Linked DNA regions of Homo sapiens: region 2 is linked to region 1. Evidence: promoter capture Hi-C in human tissues and cell types (Jung and others, 2019). All regions are on one chromosome and are shown on one strand. The core of a region is centred on a gene start or on the middle of the fragment in contact, and the rest is flanking DNA. Distances in the headings are between cores, read along the strand shown.

Region 1 (5,396 bases), core at 219-2,718:
AACACAGCAGAATTGTTGCAAAGGTTCTAGGAGCCAGATTCATTCCTTCTTCATTCTTTGCAAAACAGTGGTACAGACATGGAGTCTAGAATTGACCCAGATGGAAAGTAATTGGTATTCTTAATATCCTGGGTGACTAATATCCAGGCAGAGAAGCTCCTGGAACCATAACTGTAAGTTCCTAGCTGGCTAGGGATTGAAGTCCTGGACAGTGACAGAGGATACCACAGTAGTTCAAGACTTAGCACAAGTCACCAACTGCTTCAGGGATACCTGGAGGGGCCAGCAAGTAGAGTGTTGGTGGCCCAAGCAAACCAGTGTTGCCAATACCATTGCCAAAAGGGCCTTTGGATCCTGGACAAAGCTTGGCTGCCGGCTTCATTTATTCCTGCTGATGGCTGAGAAGCATCTGTCTTCCATCCCACTTGCCTGTCCCAAGTTTTGTTCCATTTTTTAAAAATTTGTTGTAAACTGCATGTTTTATAAAATAAAAATAAAATATCGTTTGTTATTTATCTCATTAGAGAACTGCTAGTGTGGGTTCTCTGGCTTCAGTCTTCCTCTCCTTCCTTTGAAGGTAAAGGTCCGGAATCCAAAGTTATGGATATGAAAGGGTATAATTAGGCCGGGCGCGGTGGCTCACTTCTGTAATCCTAGCACTTTGGGAGGCAGAGGTGGGTGGAACACGAGGTCAGGAGTTAAAGACCAGCCTGACCAAGATGGTGAAACCCCGTCTCTACTAAAAATACAAAAATTAGCTGGGAGTGGTGGATGGCGACTGTAACCCTAGCTGAGGCAGAAAATTGCTTCAACCCGGGAGGCGGAGGTTGCAGTGAGCCGAGATCACGCCACTGTATGCCAGCCTGGGCGATAGGGCGAGACTCCGTCTCAAAAAAAGGGGAAAAAGGTATAATTTATGCCTTTTCTGGGCAATGCTGGGTCTTTGCTATAGCTGCCCAGTACCCTAAGTCAGACTGAAGATGTACAGTATGGTTTCCGTTAATTGTGTAAGCCGACAAACTACAGGTCCCAGGATAGCTTGAGACTTGTAGTTGCTCACAAAGATGGGTCCGGTGCTGCGGTGCTTCCTGGGAGATGTAGTTTCCTGTGTATTGAAACCTGGACTGCTCGCTGGCCGGCAGCGCACCGTTTTGAAGGTCCTAGCCCACCTGGGCTGGCTCACGCGCACGACTAGCCGCTCCCATACAGCACGCCCGGACTCTGTCGTCGCTTAAGGCCACTCCTATTCTACGGCTGACCCCTGGTGGTCACGTGGATCTGTTCGCCACGCAAGTCTGGGTCCTTCGGCGATTGACCGGGGTCCTTGCTGTTCGGGAGCCTCTCCTAAGCTGCCTGTTCGCGCGAGAGTTTGGAGGGGCGGGTTTGGGGTCGGTGTCTGATTGGGGCTCGCACCGCAGCACGCTGGAGTCCCGCTTAGGTACCAGTTAGCGTCAGGGGAGCTGGGTCAGGCGGTCGCCGGGACACCCCGTGTGTGGCAGGCGGCGAAGCGCTCTGGAGAATCCCGGACAGCCCTGCTCCCTGCAGCCAGGTGTAGTTTCGGGAGCCACTGGGGCCAAAGTGAGAGTCCAGCGGTCTTCCAGCGCTTGGGCCACGGCGGCGGCCCTGGGAGCAGAGGTGGGACGGATGCGGGCGGCGAGGCGCTGGGCGCTGAGGGTTGGGGATGGACTGAAGCGAAAGCAATGGCGGAGTCCTTAGAAAGGGGGCTGGTGTCCGTACGGGTAATCACTTACGGGCTGGAGGTGGGGACGCAGGAATCTTCGGTGCAGGATCCAAATGGGCCCTAGTTATTGCTCTCCTCGCTGGCCTCCTGGCCTGACTGAGGGCTCCCTGCCGGCAGTTCCCTAGTGCCTGTAGTCCTCACGTAATCGCCAACTTACCTCCTGTAGCTGCCACAAAGCCCCGTGAACCCTAGGCATGCAGTGCTAAAGTACCAACACTTAGGGCCTCACCTATCCACGTAGAGTCTGGGGCTGAGCCGCAAGTCCTGAGCTCGCGCTCCCACCCACCACCCTGGGGGAATCAGAGCCCTCAAGCGCTGGAACAGAGAAGCCCCTTTGTGTCCCGGCCATTTCCTGGAAAGTAGAGCCAGAGTCACAATGAGGCCTTTGAAAGCCTTGGGGTGAGGATTGGGGGGGTCAGGGAAAAATGGAGTCGGCTCCTCACACTTATGTTTTATTCCCACTCAAACCCAGGTGGAGCGACCCCATTACGCTAAAGATGAAAGGCTGGGGTTGGCTGGCCCTGCTTCTGGGGGCCCTGCTGGGAACCGCCTGGGCTCGGAGGAGCCAGGATCTCCACTGTGGAGGTAAAGGCACAACGGGAAAAAGAAGTGGAGGAAGCAGAGCCTTGGGAGGGCATGAGATCCAAGGCCTGGGAGAAGGATGAATGGAAATCCTGGGTTGATCCCATTCTCCTCACACCCTACCCCCTACCCTGTCCCCTGCTCTCATTCTCTCCTCTTCCACCAGCATGCAGGGCTCTGGTGGATGAACTAGAATGGGAAATTGCCCAGGTGGACCCCAAGAAGACCATTCAGATGGGATCTTTCCGGATCAATCCAGATGGCAGCCAGTCAGTGGTGGAGGTAACTGTTACTGTTCCCCCAAACAAAGTAGCTCACTCTGGCTTTGGATGAAATTCGACTGCTTAAAAAGGACCTTGGTTTAATAGAAATGAAGAAAACAGACTCAGAAAAAAGATTTGGCTCTGTCTCATTTGGAAGAAGCTGCAGGCTTATTCCCCATGCACTTGCTTCCTGGCTGCAAACCTTAATACTTTGTTTCTGCTGTAGAATTTGTTAGCAAACAGGGAGTCCTGATCAGCACCCTTCTCCACATCCACATGACTGGTTTTTAATGTAGCACTGTGGTATACATGCAAACATCCGTTCAAAATCTGAGTCGGAGCTAAAAATAAAAAATGAAAAAACAGAAATAAGAATAAAAGGTCTTATCCTCATAATTAGGAAATTTTAATCGAAAACAACACACATGTACACAAAGGTGTATCTAATAAGCAATATATAAGGCAGTGTTAAGATTACAGTGCTAGCCTGGGCATCATGGCAAAACACCAACTCTACAAAAAAATGCAAAAGTTAGCAGTGCATGGTGGCATGTGCCTGTAGTGACAGCTGCTTGGAAGGCTGAGGTGGGAGGATCACTTGAGCCCAGGAGGTCGAGGCTGCAGTAAGCCGTGATTGTGCCACTGCACTCCAGCCTGGGAAACACAGCAAGACCCTGTCTCAAAAAAAAACCAAAACCCAGCACTTTGGGAGGCCAAGGCAGGCGGATCACCTGAGGTTAGAAGTTCGAGACCAGCCTGGCCAACATGGTGAAACTCCGTCTCTACTAAAAATACAAAAAAGTAGCCAGGCGTGGTGGCTCATGCCTATAGTCCCAGCTACTCAGGAGGCTGAGGCAGGAGAATCACTTGAACCCAGGAGGCAGAGGTTGCAGTGAGCCAAGATCGCACCACTGCACTCCAGTCTGGTTGACAAGAACAAAACTCTGTCTTGAAAAAAAAAAAAGGCCGGGCGCGGTGGCTCACGCCCGTAATGCCAGCACTTTGGGAGGCTGAGGTGGGCAGATCACAAGGTCAGGAGATCGAAACCATCCTGGCTAACATGGTGAAACCCCGTCTCTACTAAAAATACAAAAAATTAGCCGGGCGTGGTGGTGGGTGCCTGTAGTCCCAGCTACTCAGGAGGCTGAGACGAAAAGAATGGCGTGAACTCGGGAGGCAGAGCTTGCAGTGAGCTGAGATGGTGCCACTGCACTCTAGCCTGGGCGACACAGCGAGACTCCTCTCAAAAAAAAAAAAAGAAAAGAAAAAAGATTATGGTACTTTAATAGCTGTTGTTCACAGAGCCTACACTACATCTTTAATACTGTGCTTACTGAGGATATTAGTCTCAATTTAAACAAAATTATTATTATTTTTTTGAGATGGAGTTTAGGGCTTGTTGCCCAGGCTGGAGTGCAATGACACGATCTCGGCTCACCGCAACCTCTGCCTCCCGGGTTCAAGCGATTCTCCTGCCTCAGCCTCCCGAGTAGCTGGGATTACAGGCATGCACCACCACACCTGGATAATTTTGTATTTTTAGTAGAGACAGGGTTTCTCCATGTTGGTCAGGATGGTCTCGAACTCCTGACCTCAAGTGAGCCACCCTCCTCGGCCTCTCAAAGTGCTGGGATTACAGGCGTGAGCCACCACGCCCGGCCAAAAATAAAATATTAATGAACACATGGACACAGGGAGGGGAACGTCACACATCAGGTCCTGTTGGGGTGTTGGGGGCTAGGGGAGGGATAGCATTAGGAGAAATACCTAATGTAGATGACAGGTTGATGGGTGTAGCAAACCACCATGGCACATGTATACCTATGCAACAAACCTGCACGTTCTGCACATGTATCTCAGAACTTAAACTATAATTTAAAAAAAAATTATCTTCATCTATAGAAATTAGAAGTATAAGTTGATCAGGTTAATCAAAAAATTCTGTTTATAACTTGGAGCTAATGTTAACTGTCTTGTTTCTTAGAATTGTACAATGAGGTGCCGGGCACGGTGGTTCATGCCTGTAGTCCCAGCACTTTGGGAGGCTGAGGCGGGTGGATTACCTGAAGTTGGGAGTTTGAGACCAGCCTGACCAACATGGAGAAACCCCGTCTCTACTAAAAATACAAAATTAGCTGGGCGTGGTGGCACATGCCTGTAATCCCAACTACTCGGGAAGCTGAGGCAGGAGAATCACTTGAACCCGGGAGGTGGAGCTTGCGGTGAGCCGAGATCGCGCCATTGCACTCCAGCCTGGGCAACAAGAGTGAAACTCCATCTCAAAAAAAAAAAGAAAAAAAAAAAGAATTGTACAATGAGGTAAAATAAAATCATATAGTTGAAACTACTGCCAAGTACAGTGGCTCATACCTGTAATCCCAGCACTCTTGGAGGCCAAGGCAGGCAGATCACTTGAGCACAGGAGTTCGAGACCAGCCTGGGCAACATGGCAAGACCCCGTCTCTACAAAAAAAATATAAAAAAGTAGCTGGGTGTGGTGGTGTGCATCTGTGTGAGGCTGAGATGGGAGGATCACCTAAGCCTGGGAGATCCAAGCTGTAGTGAGCCTCAGTCATCACACCACTGCACTCCAGCCTGGGCAACGGAGTGAGGCCTGTCTCAAAAAAAAAAAAAAAAAAAAAAAAAAGAAGTACTTTGAAACTATCAAGTAAACCATATTAATTTAAAACCAGGCCGGGCGCGGTGGCTCATGCCTGTAATCCCAGCACCTGGGGAGGCCAAGGTGGGCGGATCACTAGGTCAGGAGATCGAGACCATCCTGGCTAGCACGGTGAAACCCGTCTCTACTA
Region 2 (5,234 bases), core at 236-2,735, 260 kb before region 1:
GTATTTTTAGTAGAGATGGGGTTTCACCATGTTAGCCAGGATGATCTCGATCTCCTGACCTCATGATCCGCCCGCCTCGGCCTCCCAAAGTGCTAGGATTATAGGCGTGAGTCACGGAGTCCGGCCAAAGTCAGGTATTTTTTAAATGAATGATTTGTGTATCAGATTGCTATGATATTTAGATCTCATTTGAATACATTTTTAAACGAAGTAACAGTTTTATTTTAAATGCCAATATTTATAATTTGCTGGAAATCATACTTTGCATGAATCTGAATATATGAAGAAAACTTGTAGACATTAACATAGAAACATATAAGAGATTTCATAGTTTTTCAAAAGTCTCTAAAGCCACAGTTCCTAAACTGTGCTCTCAGGCACTGTGGGTGGCTGTGGTGAACTCAGAGGGTCACAACGAGGGTTATTTTAACTCTTTGAAGAAAAACAGCAATATCTGTTGGAGAATGTGTGCACTACTAACTCAAAATTGTACACTGCTTCAACATTAGTTCCCCCTACAATCCTTTTGATAGATAACATCATATTTTCACAAAGCTGGGTTTAAATAGTTGCTATGACAAAAGCAAATACCATAAGAAAACCAATACGTAACAGGAAATGAGTGTGTAGGTGTCCATTCTGATACCAAATTTTGAGAAGTTGTGCAATTCCAACAGGCACATATTCCATTAGTAAGTATAGTTAGAATGAAATAAAGACATGCTCTCTTTCAATGTTTGTGTATTATTTTTTCAAACAGCTACAAAGTTGTTAAAGCATAAACACTTCTTAAGCTGTATGGACCATGAAGTTACTGCTGTCAGGAAATTTTTTTAAAAAGTTGTGTGGACTGGCTGGGCGCAGTGGCTCATGCCTGTAATCCTAGCACTTTGGGAGGCTGAGGCGGCTGGATAACCTGAGGTCAGGAGTTCGAGAACAGCCTGGACAACCTGGTGAAACCACATCTTTACTAAAAATACAAAAATTAGCTGGGCATGGTGGCGGGCGCCTGTAATCCCAGTTACTCAGGAGGCTGAGGCAGGAGAATCACTTGAACCCGGGAGGCAGAGGTTGCAGTGAGCCAAGATTGTGCCATTGCACTCCAGCCTGGGCAACAGAGTGAGACTTCGTCTCAACAACAACAACAACAACAACAAAAATACAAAAATTAGCCAGGCGTGGTGGTACGCACCTGTGGTACGCGACAGAGCGAGACTCCGTCTCAAAAAAAAAAAAAAAAAGTGTGGACCATTCAGTTACTTAATAAATTGAACTGTTAGGTATTTCTTTTGGTCTAGGGTGAAAAACTATTAGATAACTAAGGGTGGCACAAACTGAGAAAGGTTAAGAACCTCTGCTCAACCTGCAAAATAAGTTCGATGGTCCCAAGCCTAGGAACTCTCCTTTAGATATACACGGGATTGCCAGCAGGTGGTGCTACTAAGCTTGAGTCAGCTGGGGAAGAGGAACTATTTCTTTTCTTCTTCTTCTTTTTTTTTTTTTTTTTTTTTTTTTTGAGATGGCGTCTCGCTTTGCTGCCCAGGCTGGAATGCAATGGCGCGATCTCGGCTTACTGCAACCTCCGCCTCCCGGGTTCAAGTGATTCTCCTGCCTCAGCCTCCCGAGTAGCTGGGACTACAGGAGCCCGCCACCATACCCAGCTAATTTTTGTATTTTTAGTAGAGACGGGGTTTCACCAGGTTGGCCAGGCTGGTCTCAAACTCCTGACCTCAGGTGATCCACCCGCCTCAGCCTCCCAAAGTGCTGGGATTACAGGCGTGAGCCACCACGCCCAGCCAAGAGAAACTATTTCTTGTTCCCAAGGTCTGAAACACTCAGAGTAAGGGGGTGTTCACGGACCAGACAAGATATAAAGCAAAAAGGGGTGCTTGGCTCACTTAGTCCAGTCATTTTGAAACTAAAAAAAAAAAAAAAAGTCAAAAGAATCTCCTTTCAAATAAAATCTTAAAATAAATAAAAGCAGAGCCATTTCTTAAGTGGGCTAAGGGAGGCTGATACCCTACGACAGTGAGGGCAGATACCAAAGCCCAAAGAAGGGCACCTGGGAAAACTGCAGGTATAGGGAATACTGTGGGAAAATTACTCATCTGAATCAATCTCCACTTCAGAGAGTGAACCAAGGCTCACAAGCTCTGATATCACAGGTGCAGAATTGTTCTGGAATACAGGTCTCCCAACAGATCTGAAAAGGAAGATCAAAACTTCTACCTCATCCTACTGCTCTCAAAGCCAGAAGGATCAGGGCTCTGCTCTAACACCCACTCCTGTAAGACCCTGGGCAAATCATTTCTACTGAAGAGTTCACTTTCCTCATCTGTAAGATAGAGAATATTTATCTCACAGGGATGTTGTAAAGATTAAATGAGACAAGATGAGAAATACTCAGTAAACTATAAGAATATACAGAATTTTTTACTCTGGTTGGGTCTGGATTAAAGGAACAAAGCCTAGAGTACTTCCCTAGGAAGTAGTAGGGAGCTTAGCCGAGTGTGGTGGCTCATGCCTGTAATCCCAACTGCTTAGGTGGCTGAGGCAGGAGGATCACTTGAGCCCAGATGTTCAAGAGCAGCCTGGGCAACACAGCAAGACCCCATCTTTATAAAAAAAATATTTAGGTGGGGCTAATGGGTTTTTGAGTATTGTAACCTATAATAAAATGAACCTTTTTTTTTTTTTTTTTTTTGAGACAGAGTCTCACTCTGTTCCCCAGGCTGCAGTGCAGTGGTGCGATCTCAGCTCACTGCAACCTCTGCCTCCCAGGTTCAAGCAATTCTCCTGCCTCAGCCTCCTGAGTAGCTGGGATTACAGGCATGCGCCACCACGTCTGGCTAATTTTTGTATTTTTAGTAGAGACGGGGTTTCACCATGTTTGCCAGGCTGGTCTCAAACTCCTGACCTCAGGTGATATGCCTGCCTTGGCCTCCTAAAGTGCTGGGATTACAGGTGTAAGCCACCGCACCTGGCCTAAAATGAACTTTTGACTTACCATCAAGTATTTTTGAATAATAGTAAAGTATTTTGACCTTGTGTGGGAAAGGCATAGATTTTGTTTTCTGGTGACCCCCAAGTGACATTTGTTATTAACCTCATCATTTCCCCACTCCTGCCATCCTCACCTTGCAAAGCCAACACCTCTGCTGGTCCCACTGGTATCTCGAAGGATACGGGTGGAGATAACCTGGCCAAAGGGCTTCAGCATCCCCTCCAGTTCCTGCTCATCCATTGACAGTGGGAGGTTTGAGATGTATAAATTTGTGGGGTCCTGTTCCTGTTGCTGTGGAAATAACAGTGAGAAAATGAGGCTCACATCTCTTATCCCTCTCCCACCCTCAGCCCTCCCCACAAATGACATTTCAGAAAAGAGACTATAGGAAGGGTCCCACATAAACAAAGATTATTCTATTTGTTAACACCCAGTCCCACTACCACGGGTTGTATATTGAGTTCCAGGAGGGAGAAGTGCAGATTTAATATTTCTAGTACTATACAAGCCCATCATACAAGTCATAAATGGTGTTTGGCTGTCTCTTTTAGAAACAGGCAGAGCAGCATTCCCGCTCTCCCCCAGCAGCCGGTCCCAGAGGCTGGATTCCCTCAGACTGCCTTGCTCCTTGGCTGGCTTGTTTTGAGCAGCCCCTCCCCACTTCTCTTCCAGCCACGCAGAATCCTCTAAGTAGGAATGCCTGTTCACTCCCTGATGGAGGAAGAGCAGGAGGAGGGGAGAAGGGAACAGGGAGAGAGCCAGATGCAGAGTTCACTGTGTCACCACGGAGCCCTGAAAGCTACAGTCTCCTAGGACCCTGAAGGCTCCTAAACCTTTGAGCTTTTGTCAGAGGGTTTTACTCCTGGAAGAAGAGGTAGGAGAGCCCTTCCAGGGGACAGAATGTGCAAAATGGCAATATCATCCAATAGTTGTATTTTTAAGAATTTAAGCAGTCACTCTGCCCTAAACAGTGGTCACCAGCAACCTTAATCCTCTTCTGCCTTTTCCTTTTGTTTTCCTTTTCTTTAACCATTACAGAAAAGGTGTCTAGCAGGCCTGCCTCACAAGCTCTATGTATAATACTCATAACAGCTTCAGAAAGGCAAAGGGACAGCCAGGCGTGGTGGCTCATGCCTGTAATCCCAGCACTTTGGAAGGCTGAGGTGGGCGGATCACAACGTCAGGAGATCGAGACCATCCTGGCTAACACGGTGAAACCCTGTCTCTACTAAAAATACAAAAAATTAGCTGGAGGTGATGGCGGGTGCCTGTAGTCCCAGCTACTTGGGAGGCTGAGGCAGGAGAATGGCGTGAAGCCGGGAGGTGCAGCTTGCAGTGAGCCGAGATTGCGCCACTGCACTCCAGCCGGGGCGACAGAGCGAGACGCTGTCTCAAAATAAATAAATAAATAAAATAAAATAGAAAGGCAAGGAGACAATCCCACCTAACAGAAGAAGTGAGAGAAAAGCTTCTAGATTTCTAGTAGTCTAGGTGAAGACAACAGTTTCAGACAGATCTGAGAAGAGACAGTTTCCTCCCTTGATGTGGCTTCCCTCCTGCCTCCCCAGCCCACTACCCAGCCCGTATGGGGAACAACATTAGGAGGTGGAGAGCATTGTTCTGAAATTCTGAGTTGCACAATTGACTTGTTCAGAGAATGTTGCAAAACCACCACAAGCTGTCTGGTAGGGAAGTGGGGCCAGGGTGAATAATATAGGGAACACGGGGAAGCAGCAGGAGTACCGGAAGAGGCCACCTTACCTTTCTTGCTGCCAATAACTTGGTGAAAGGAAGAGAGCTGATAGAGCTACCTGCCATAGACTTTGAATACATCTTCCTCCAGCAGCCAGGGGTGCTCATGGACTGTCTAGAAAGCACCACGGATAGCCCTTGCCCACTCAATTTCATGGTTCTTAAGCCCTCTGGAAACCTTAGAACTGGAACTTTGGTGCTAACCACAAACCCCTTGGAGGAACAGACATGGGGTAGTACCCTTACCTTTGCCATCTGTGCCTGTACACCGCTGGCCTTCAGTGCTGTTACAGCTTTCTGTGCTGCTGAAGGGCTGTCAAAATCTACAAAGCCATAGCCTGGAACAGAGGAAACAGCATCACTAGGAAGTGGGAGGTGTAAGGAACAGAGAGGTCCAGGCTTTTCAGGAGACAGAGGAAGAGTTATGATCCATGTAACAGAAATGGGAGGGAGAAAGAGCTATTGAGAGGTTTCAGGT

Evidence for each region. Contacts are between HindIII fragments. The study calls those that stand out against the background at their distance.
Region 2: a fragment that was not itself captured here is called in contact with the fragment with the promoter of CNPY2 in region 1 in 2 of the 25 tissues and cell types used here (heart right ventricle and pancreas).

The regions. Positions count from the first base shown.
Region 1 is chr12:56,312,060-56,317,455 of GRCh38, reverse strand. It overlaps CNPY2 (canopy FGF signaling regulator 2), which reads left to right and starts at 1,468. Exons shown (of 6, transcript NM_014255.7): 1 at 1,468-1,635; 2 at 2,214-2,326; 3 at 2,490-2,605. The coding sequence starts at 2,239. PAN2 (poly(A) specific ribonuclease subunit PAN2) reads left to right here. Exons shown (of 26, transcript NM_014871.6): 26 at 1-520. It overlaps CNPY2-AS1 (CNPY2 antisense RNA 1), which reads right to left. Exons shown (of 2, transcript XR_002957416.2): 1 at 4,957-5,396; 2 at 2,648-2,927. RefSeq lists enhancers at 1,115-1,264, 1,345-1,394, 895-1,483. The HindIII fragment of the contact is 7,285 bases long and covers 1-5,396 here.
Region 2 is chr12:56,569,759-56,574,992 of GRCh38, reverse strand. It overlaps RBMS2 (RNA binding motif single stranded interacting protein 2), which reads right to left. Exons shown (of 14, transcript NM_002898.4): 4 at 5,003-5,094; 5 at 3,138-3,295. Among named protein-coding and RNA genes, the nearest start is that of RBMS2, 51 kb to the right of the region's middle. The HindIII fragment of the contact is 8,132 bases long and covers 1-5,234 here.